Regions from separate parts of the Homo sapiens genome. Here all the other regions are linked to region 2. The links are contacts of gene promoters, found by promoter capture Hi-C in human tissues and cell types (Jung and others, 2019). All regions are on one chromosome and are shown on one strand. Each heading gives the region's core, a stretch centred on a gene start or on the middle of the fragment in contact. The rest is flanking DNA. Distances are from core to core; before and after follow the strand shown. Region 1 holds the start of BNIPL (BCL2 interacting protein like). Region 2 holds the start of ENSA (endosulfine alpha). Region 3 holds the start of MRPS21 (mitochondrial ribosomal protein S21).

The links. The method cuts DNA at HindIII sites, captures the fragments that hold promoters and counts their contacts. A contact is called where the count stands out against the background at its distance.
Region 1: a contact is called between the fragment with the promoter of BNIPL here and the fragment with the promoter of ENSA in region 2, in 1 of the 25 tissues and cell types used here (adrenal gland).
Region 3: a contact is called between the fragment with the promoter of MRPS21 here and the fragment with the promoter of ENSA in region 2, in 1 of the 25 tissues and cell types used here (heart right ventricle).

The regions. Positions count from the first base shown.
Region 1 is chr1:151,034,829-151,038,137 of GRCh38, reverse strand. It overlaps BNIPL (BCL2 interacting protein like), which reads right to left and starts at 1,552. Exons shown (of 10, transcript NM_138278.4): 1 at 1,372-1,552; 2 at 476-571. The coding sequence starts at 1,412. It overlaps PRUNE1 (prune exopolyphosphatase 1), which reads right to left. Exons shown (of 8, transcript NM_021222.3): 8 at 2,425-3,309. The HindIII fragment of the contact is 8,096 bases long and covers 677-3,309 here.
Region 2 is chr1:150,628,246-150,631,355 of GRCh38, reverse strand. ENSA (endosulfine alpha) reads left to right here and starts at 1,744. Exons shown (of 4, transcript NM_004436.4): 1 at 1,744-1,942. The coding sequence starts at 1,886. LOC112268239 (a long non-coding RNA gene) reads right to left here and starts at 1,537. Exons shown (of 2, transcript XR_007066603.1): 1 at 854-1,537. RefSeq lists enhancers at 80-1,049, 1,050-2,017, 1,760-2,029. The HindIII fragment of the contact is 5,200 bases long and covers 1,055-3,110 here.
Region 3 is chr1:150,291,845-150,295,289 of GRCh38, reverse strand. It overlaps MRPS21 (mitochondrial ribosomal protein S21), which reads right to left and starts at 1,429. Exons shown (of 3, transcript NM_031901.6): 1 at 1,392-1,429; 2 at 841-955. The coding sequence starts at 923. It overlaps LOC105371434 (a long non-coding RNA gene), which reads left to right and starts at 1,470. Exons shown (of 2, transcript XR_922129.4): 1 at 1,470-1,658; 2 at 1,793-1,990. RefSeq lists an enhancer at 1,082-1,141. The HindIII fragment of the contact is 19,456 bases long and covers 1-3,445 here.

The DNA of each region.
Region 1 (3,309 bases), core at 303-2,802, 410 kb before region 2:
CTCCCAAAGTGCTGGGATTACAGGCATCAGCCACCACGCCCGGCCTCTGTTTTCTTTTTCCCATTTTTTTCCTTCAAGTCCTAATTCACCATCCCTGTGTCCATTTGCTTTTTTTTTTTTTTTTTTTTTTTTTTTTTGAGACAGAGTTTCACTCTTGTTGCCCAAGCTCGGGTGTAATGGCACAATCTCAGCTCACTACAACCTCTGCCTCCCAGGTTCAAGTGATTCTCCTGCCTCAGCCTCCCGAGTAGCTGGGATTACAGGCATGTGCCACCACACCTGGCTAATTTTGTATTTTTAGTAGAGACGGGATTTCACCGTGTTGGTCAGGCTGGTCTCAAACTCCTGACCTCAGGTGATCCACCCGCCTCGGCCACCCAAAGTGCTGGGATTACAGCCATGAGCCGCCGCGCCATCCCCTCCGTCCATTCGTGACCACCCCTCCCTTCTCCCAGCCACCCTCACACGTCCTCACCTAGGGAATTCTTCATCCTGCCATTCCTCCTTCAGCTCCAACTCCCCATGTCTCAGGGCTGCTCCTAGTTCTGGTGCTTCTGCAATCTCCCTGACCCTAAGACAGCCCCCAAGAAGAAAAGATCAAGGGAACTGAATAGTAGGTAAGAATAATTGAAATGAAGAACAGTAATTGAGATACAGAGCAGAGGATAGGCCTTCAAAAGGACTCAGATCTCTTGCCTCCTATACAGATGCTTCTCTTACCTTCACCACTTGCTAGAAGCAGATTACCTGCTGTTAAGTTTGGGAGCAGACGAAAGATGGAATGTAAAGTTAATCATATTTACCTCTGTAGCAGTTGCTCCACCTACAAAGTTGGGGTGAGAGATGTCCCACATTACAAGTGGCTGGAACCCAGCTAGACCCACCCAGCTATCATTGAGCAAAGTCGGGAAGACGGTACCTAGTTAGGCCTGCCTTTCCTCCACCGAGCTGGGGAGTGGCTAAGGGAAAACATGGCATAAGTGGAGGGGTGGAGGAAGAAGGTAAGGAGAAAGATTTGCCAGAACGAGAACCTGGACCTAAACTCGGTTCTGGTTCAGCTTTCCTGATGGCCATTCTGGAGGGTGAGGGTTAGAAAATAAAAGAACACAGGCAGATTTATCAGGTACAACATATTACAGAAACTTCCTTTATTTTTAAACCAGGGAATTATCCTGGAATCCTGTTCCCCAGTTCCATACCATACTGACATTTCCTACCTAAAACCACCCTCATCTCTTCTCTGCAAACTCTCTTACAGTCTTGTCTCCTTGAGGAACCCGAGATTTGACCCAGTAAGAGCTGGGTGGTGGGGAAGTCTCTCCGGACTGTTTATTCACTGTTACCAATCAAGTGAGCCAAGATCTTACTTACCCAACATCTGTCTTTTTTCCTGCCTCTTGTATAGTTCCCATCTTCACAAGTCTTCCTGCCTCCTTCTTTAAACACCTAGGAGTTGTTGGGGAGCTGGTTGTCCCAGCCCCCAACACTTCCTTACCTCTTTTCTGTCTCAGCTGTTGTAGCTCTTGCCTCCAAGGAGGGAGGTGTGGAAGGGAGGTAACCTCATCTTCAAAACAGGTTTTGCCACTCCTCTCCCCAGGAGCAGGTTTGCCCAAAAGAAAAACCCTGCCTCCTGTGAGGGGGCGGGTTTTGGGGAGGAGAGTGCATTTTCTAGTGGGGGCCAGTCTCGGTTGAGTCTAGGAAGGCAATTTGTTCTCCTTTCCAGACTCCATATATCCCTCTCAAAGTTGCTCTTTACACAAATAAGCAAAAAAACCAGTAGAAACCGTTGTGTTTCTGGCCGGGCGTGGTGGCTCACACCTGTAATCCCAACACTTTGGGAGGCCAAGGCAGGCGGATCACCTGAGGTCGGGAGTTTGAGACCAGCCTGACCAATGTGGAGAAACCCCATCTCTACTAAAAATCCAAAAAAAAAAAAAAAAAAAAAAAAAAAAAAAAATTATCTGGGCGTGGTGACACATGCCTATAATCCCAGCTACTTGGGAGGCTGAGGCAGGAGAATCGCTTGAACCTGGGAGGCAGAGGTTGTAGTGGGCTGAGATTGTGCCATTGCACTCCAGCCAGGGCAAAAAGAGCAAAACTCCATCTCAAAAAAAAAAAAAAAAAGAAAAAGAAACCATTGTGTGTGTTTCTAGGACTGTTATCTTGGATCTACTTTTCAAGCATAAGGAAAACTGGGGAAACGGAAGTATGTTATAAGGAGGTTTCTGGGAGAATAAACAAGTTGAACGGGAGGCTGAGGATGAGGGGAGACAGAAGCCTGTTGCTCCTTATTCCCAAAAAGAGTCAACAGAAAGAAGACATTAAGTATAGTAGGAAGAAGGGGGATCAATTTTGAGGAGACTGAAACAACTATCACAGAGAAAGGCCTGAATACACTTGTAAAAAAAGACAGTAAGACCCCCAAACAGGAAAAAATTATTTAATAGTATAACAAAATGCAAAATAAAGTACCCAAGTTACAAAACATAAATTCCTTTGGTTCATGATCACACCACTATTTTTACCTTCCACATAGCTACAGACATCACACCCTCAAAGTGAAGTCAAACTGTCCCCCTCATACTGAAGATGTCATGCCAAAACCATCACATACCCCACTGTTCAGTGAAACTGTTGGCAACTTACATGGAACAGAGCTGTGGGGTAGGAAAAAGGGGAAAGGGTTGCGTTAAAAAAAATGGGGAGACTCTACACATGCAGAACAAGTTAGTGGGAGGGAGTGCTCTGCTGGGTCAACACGCCATGAACCACACCCCTATTCGTGCTACATGAGGCTGAGTCCTTGCTACAACCACACAGAAATACAGACAATCAAGTGAACCTGAGCACCCCCAGGGATAACAGAAGAAAAATACAGAGAAGCAGAGGAGAGAAAGAATGGCAGCAAGAGGCAGATCACAGAATACCAGGGAACACCTAGTCCAAACCCTGTTTTACAGATGGGGAAAGTGAGACCTGGAGTAGTGAAGTGTCTTGCCAAAATACATAGTTTATGGGAGCATTAGAACTCCATGCTTCCTTTTAATGTGAGCAAGGAAAAAAAGAGATTGACAAGAAATTGATAGGCCTGCTAAGGCAGGAGACAGACCCAGGCCTCTCATTCCAGTTCTGTTGTCTTTTTGGAAGAGTGCCTATGAGGTCATTAAGGCCTTTCTGGGTGTTTTCTTGATTCTCAAGAGTCAGGGTTCTGGGTGGCTCTGGGACAGAGGGATCCAAAGAAACAGCCAGGCCACCTGATCAGGACAGAAGACAATGGCCTCTAATCTGTTCCCAAACTAGATCTGAAAC
Region 2 (3,110 bases), core at 495-2,994:
TCTCATTCTCTATTCAGTCAGCTGCTAGTCTAGTGGATTCCATTGTCACAGACTCTCTTGGTTAGGTTCACTATTTTCTATTCTTAACTACTACGTTTCTAGGTTAAATCCTAATTATCTCCCACCTAACGTTTGCAGAGGACTCGGCTAGACTGTTCATCTCTGGTAGTTTTCTGCTTGGAATTCTGAGTCTTTTTATTCATTACCACCAAATTATCTCCATAAAGAGCACTTCTTATCTGCCACTCTTTTTTTTTTTTTTTTTTTGAGACGGACTCTCACTGTCACCCAGGCTGGAGTTCAGTGGCGAGATGCGATCTCGGTTCACTGCAACCTCCGCCTCCCAGGTAAAAGCGATTCTCCTGCCTCAGGCTCCTGAGTAGCTGGGACTACAGGTGCACGCCACCACGCCTGGCTAATTTTTGTATTTTTAGTAGAGACGGGGTTTCTCCATGTTGACCAGGATGGTTTCTATCGCCTGACATCATGATCCACCCTCATCGGCCTCCCAAGGTGCTGGGATTACATGCGTGGGCCACCGTGCCCAGCCTTGTTTTGTATTTCTAGTAGAGACAGGGTTTCACCATGTTGGCCAGGCTGGTTTCGAACTCCTGACCTCAAGTGATTCGCCCGCCTACGCCTCCCAGAGTGCTGGCATTACAGGCGTGAGTCACCGCGCCCAGCCAGGCCTGTAAGCTTTCTAAGGGCAGAGACTGCCTTACTATACACGTACCCCCCCCAACTAACACAGTACCATCCACATACAGACAGACGCCCAGGAAATGTTAAACTGTAATTCTGGATAGGTTAACTAGTATTAACCGTATTTACCAAATGTTTACCACATACTTACACTGTCCTCCTTGTTTCAAGGAGCGTAGTCCCCAAGGGATCACCCTGATGGAATATAAAAACTACACATAAGAGTGAAACTACGGAACGTAAGCCATTAGTGTTTTGCAAGACAGCTCGGGTTGAGACTCAGTCTCTCTCTTCCACAGGCCAAGTGACACATCGTAATACCATTGGTACCGTTTTATTTTATTTTTCGCGACAAAGTCTCGTCCTGTCACCCAGGCTGGAGTGCAGTGGCGCGATTTCGGCTCACTGCAACCTCCGCCTGCAGGGTTCAAGCGATTCTCCTGCCTCAGCCTCCCAAGTAATTGGGATTACAAACGCCCGCCACCACGCCCGGCTAATATTTGTATTTTTAGTAGAGACGGGGTTTCACCATGTTGGTCAGGCTGGTCTCGAACTCCTAACCTCAGGTGATCCGCCCACCTCGGCCTCCCAAAGTGCTAGGATTACAGGCGTGAGGCACCGCGCCCGGCCTGTTAGTACTACTTTAAAATCGAATCTGACCTCCAAATCATTTTCTGGAGCTCGATCATTTTCTGCTAACACCGCAAAGCTTAATCCTCTCCACCTGAGAATAAAAGGTTCCATCCTTCCGCTCTCCAGTTTGACGCCCTGCTAAGTCTCTCGGACGCGGTGGGCTGGAGTGAAGGAAGCCGGAGCCCACCAAAGCTGCAAAAGTACCACAGCCAGCAGCCCCGCCCCCGATATCCCCCACAGGCTTCCAATTGGTCCTTGTGGCTCACTCTCTTTCCAGGTTGGTGTTCCAGCTTGCCGGTCGCCTCTATAGAGCCCACCTTTAGACGGCGACTATTGGTAGATCGTTACGTCATTGCCCTATCTACCTCACTCCCACTGGCTCTCATAGGAAGGGGCGGTCGCAACGTCACGGGCAAGGGCCGCCATTTTGACTGAGCAACCCTAGTGACAGGAGCCGAAGCAGCAGCGCAGGTTGTCCCCGTTTCCCCTCCCCCTTCCCTTCTCCGGTTGCCTTCCCGGGCCCCTTACACTCCACAGTCCCGGTCCCGCCATGTCCCAGAAACAAGAAGAAGAGAACCCTGCGGAGGAGACCGGCGAGGAGAAGCAGGTGAAGTGGAAGGGGTGCGGGCGGGCGAGCTGGGGAGACCGTGATGGGGCGGGAGACGGTCTCCCACCAGTGCGGATTGGTCGCCATGGTCTCAGGCTCCGCAGGGGTTGGCCACTTTTTGCGTCACGCTGGGTGAGCTTCAACACGACATGCTGCTTTGGCGCTGGTTAGTTGGGTCGTTTGTCACTCAGTACTGTACTCTTCCTGATTGGCCAATAGGCCTACCGCTCAAACCTTGGACGCTGTGCTATAATTGGCCGAGCATGGACGTGGGGCGGGTGGTTGGAAAGACGGTGAATGGAAAGGGGATGGCTGGTGGTCTTGGGTGTGATGTGTGTTATTGGTTTGTAGAGGTAAGTGACCCAGCAACCGGGCTGGGGCCCGCAGCCTCAATCCGCAAAGATAGGGGTCGAGGTAAAGACGTTTAAAAAAAAACCAGTATTGGGGGAGGGGAGAAGTGTAGTTATTATAATGGCTAGTTTAAGGCGGCAACTTTCTCAAGAGACCTATTTTAGTAGCTAAGGATGGTCTATTGCTCACCTTCAGTGAGGACCCAGCAATATTGAAGAGGGCTAGAGTTCCAAACAGAATCATGGTAATTAAACTTGGAAAAGACGCCGACAGGGTCGTGAGAAAGACACTTCTCTCTTCCCCTAGACTTCCAAGGCAGGGACTTAGTGCACCTGCGATTCCGTGATGGAAACACTAACGCCAAATAAACCCCTTATTGGGGTTTGTATTTGACTTTTAAAATTTAGTACTGGGTTCAGGTACTCATTAAATACACTTGGTGTTATATCTATGCGTAATTTCCAAGAGAAAGGAATATAATTCCACTAAAAAGAGTCATACGTTGACTTCATATCTTTTCAAAAAGTCACTAAAGGGCAGCAGGGACCACAAAAAAAAAAAAAAGAGATTGACTACAGTAGTGAGAGTCCCTGCACCACCAGGGTAGGTATTGATTTTTTTGATGAAAACTGGTGGGTAAATACTAGTGAGCCTACTGTATCTTTGTTTTCCTGAGGTTAAAAACAGTATCATTTTCCTCTCTGTTTATCAGCTTGCTACCATAATATTTGTGGAAATGTTGAAGCAAGGCTGTGCCATTACTCAGGTGGAGATCTTTGGAGAAGGCCACATAGCTAGCCGCCTCCACAGGGAGACC
Region 3 (3,445 bases), core at 180-2,679, 340 kb after region 2:
GCGCTGTGGCTTACGCCTGTAATCCTAGCACTTTGGGAGGCAGAGGCAGGCAGATCACTTGAGGTCAGGAGATCAAGACCATCCTGGCCAACACGGTGAAACCCCATCTCTACTATAAATACAAAAATTAACCGGGCGTGGTGGCGGGAGCCTGTAGTACTGGCTGCTCAGGAGGCTGAGGCAGGAGAATGGCGTGAACCCAGGAAGCGGAGCTTGCAGTGAGCCGAGATCGTGCCGCTGCACTCCAGCCTGGGTGACAGAGCGAGACTCTGCCTCAAAAAAAAAAAAAAAAATTAAAATTAAAATTAAAAGCGGGGAGGTGCGGGGGGTGATTACTTGTTGAATACAATTCATACAGTTAGGTTTGAGGAAGAACTTTTTTTCTTTTTTTTTGAGATAGAGTCTCACTCTTGCCCAGGCTGGAGTGCAAGTGGCTCGATCTTGGCTCACTACAACCTCTGCCTCCCGGGTTCAAGCGATTCTCCTGCCTCAGCTCTCGAGTAGCTGAGATTACAGGCGTTTGCCACCACGCCCGGCTAATTTTTGTATTTTTAGTAGAGACACGGTTTCACCATGTTGGCCAGGCTGGTCTGAAACTCCTGACCGCATGTGATCCACCCGCCTCGGCCTCCCAAAGTGCTGGGATTACAGGCGTGAGCCACCGCGCCCGGCCCAGAACTTCATTTTTAAGATAATAAACTGAGGGGCTGAGACGTTTTAAGAGACTGTGAACACCTGGGCTGGCACTGTTTTGAGAACAATCAACGAAAGGGGAAGGGAGAGAATAACCACCGCACTTCCCAGAGAGTCTAGGCATGATTCTGGTCCCTTAACAGTTACCTGTTTAGGGTCCTGTATGCGCTTTCCACGTTCCCTTCCTGTACCATCACAGTCCTGGCGATGAACTTCAGATGTTTTGCCATGACCTTGGATTTAAACCTTCACTCTGTAGAGCCTAAAGGATGATGGAGAAAGGGCGAGGAAAGCAGAAAGAGAAACGCAACATAATACAAACTACACCGCGCGGCTTATTTAGGATTTGGAAATTCAACATGCTCAGGGACGCGCGAGATGGAGCACATGGAAGTCATCCTAGAAAGTAGACGTGAATCGTTGTCTCTTATTCTCACTGCCAGTCCAAATCCTCGCATAGAGAAGAAAAGAGATGGCAGCAGGGCGTTACCACAAAGACGCGTCGCCGGGCATGAGAAGGACACGAGCGACAAGGATGCGCCACAGGGTCCCAACCACCACACATAGTTCCAAAAGGGGTTGAGTTGGGAGTTGGGGAAGGACTCTTTGTTGGTCTTTGGAAAAGGGGGCGAAAGCCCGCAAACCTGCCCTCTCGCCAAGCCAGCCTTCCTTTCCCCAAACCCTGCACAACTCCTCACCTCGCGCGCTCAGTACCTAGCCCACCGGAAGGGTTCTCACTACCGGAAGCGGAAATTACGGAATCGCCAGCGCCGCGCAAAGAAACAGGCCGAGGGAGACAACGTGCGTGGAAACCATAGCAACGTCCTTTCTGGCCTCTGTTGACTGCCTCTCTTCCCCGGGCCTGGACTCTACACCTGACAAAGCAAAATACTCATTGACTTAAATTCCCCCGAAACACGTTTCTCGCCCTCTCATGGAGTCGAAGTCCTTCGGCCTCTGAGAAGGTCAGCCCAATTTCATACCCCTTAATCCTGTGAAATCCTTGATAAATATTTGAGCCATTTCTCTTTCTCGATGGAAAACAAGAGAAGTAGGCGCTTCCTGAGGATGCTTCCTGTTTTCTCTTTGGAAAGGACAGACTCTTTGAGATCTGCTCTCCGGACGAAAAATAGATTGATTCATACACGTCATCTGCCTAAGTGCTAAGGAAAAGAAATAAACATACTGTGAGTTTCCTATATCATCTTCCCACTAATTTAACTACATAAAGTGAAATCAATAAAGATATATGGGAAACACCTGCAGGGTTTAGAATAAAAAATTATGTCAGCTTCTATGCCTTTTCGTGCTAATGAGACCTACTGAAAAACCTCCTTTTAAATTTCTTCTTCGCTGTGGAGACACCCGTCCTCCTATTTGTATGCTACCTGTACATATCCATTTATGGTTATTCACGTAAGTTAACATCTAATGGCTGTAGGAAAACGTACCTCCCTTAGAGAGAGAGTGCGCGCGCACGCTCACGCACACACACACACACACAGACACAGACACAGACGTGTGCATCATCAGTTGATGCTAATAACTTACACTAACACTTAAGCCCACCTCAGAGTAAGCCAGGTCCAAAGTAACGAAATAGAACTAGATTGGGACATTATTATGCTTGTCAACAAACTTTCACTGAATGACTACTCTGTGTCAGATACTGTTGATACCACTCTAGTGCCTCCTGGACCACTAGGACCACATAAAAGATACTAAAACAAAGTAGTATATAATAAATGCAAAATAAATTATATGGGCTGGACGCGGTGGCTCACACCTGTAATCCCAGCACTTTGGGAGGCCAAGGCAGGCGGATCACTTGAGCCCAGAAGTTCGAGACCAGCCTGGGCAACAAAGCAAAACTCCGTCTTTACAAAAAATATAGAAATTAGCCGGGTGTAGTGGCATGGCCTGTTGTCCTAGCTACTTGGGAGGCTGAGGGGGAGGATCACCTGAGCCTGGAAGGTCAAGGCTGCAGCGAGCTTTGATCACACCACTGCACCCTGGCCTGGGCAATAGAGTGAGACCCTGTCTCAAAAAATTAAAAATGAATAAATAAATAAATAGGGCCAGGCGCGGTGGCGCACGCCTGTAATCCCAGCACTTTGGGAGGCTGAGGCGGGTAGATCACCTGAGGTCAGGAGTTTGAGACCAGCCTGGCCAACATGGTGAAACCCTGTCTCTACTAAAAATACAAAATTAGCCAGGCGTGGTGCCACATGCCTGTAATCCCAGCTGCTTGGGAGGCTGAGGCAGGAGAATCACATGAACCTGGGAGGCGGAGGTGGCAGTGAGCCGAGATCGCACCATTGCACTCCAGCCTGGGCAACAAGAGTGAAACTCCATTTCAAAAAATAAATAAACAAACAAATAATAAATAAAATATGCCACAGCATAATGTGGTGAAAGGCACTGGCTTCAAAGTTGGGAGATCTGGATTCTATCCCAATTCTAATACTCATCAGGCCTATGACCTTGAAGAAGTCATTTAAAACCAGGGGTCTGGAGACTACAGTTTACAGGTCAAATCCTGCTCCACCTGTTTTTGTAAATAAGGCTGTTGACCTACAGTCATGCTTATTTGACTGTGTGTTATGTATGGCTGCTTTGGGCTACGATGGCCGAATTGGGTAGTTGCAATAGAGACATAAAGCCTACAAAGCCTAAAATATTTACTATCTGGCCCTTGCCAGACTCACTCTATTTCCTCATCTCTAAAATGGGACTAATTTTGCCCTGTTCA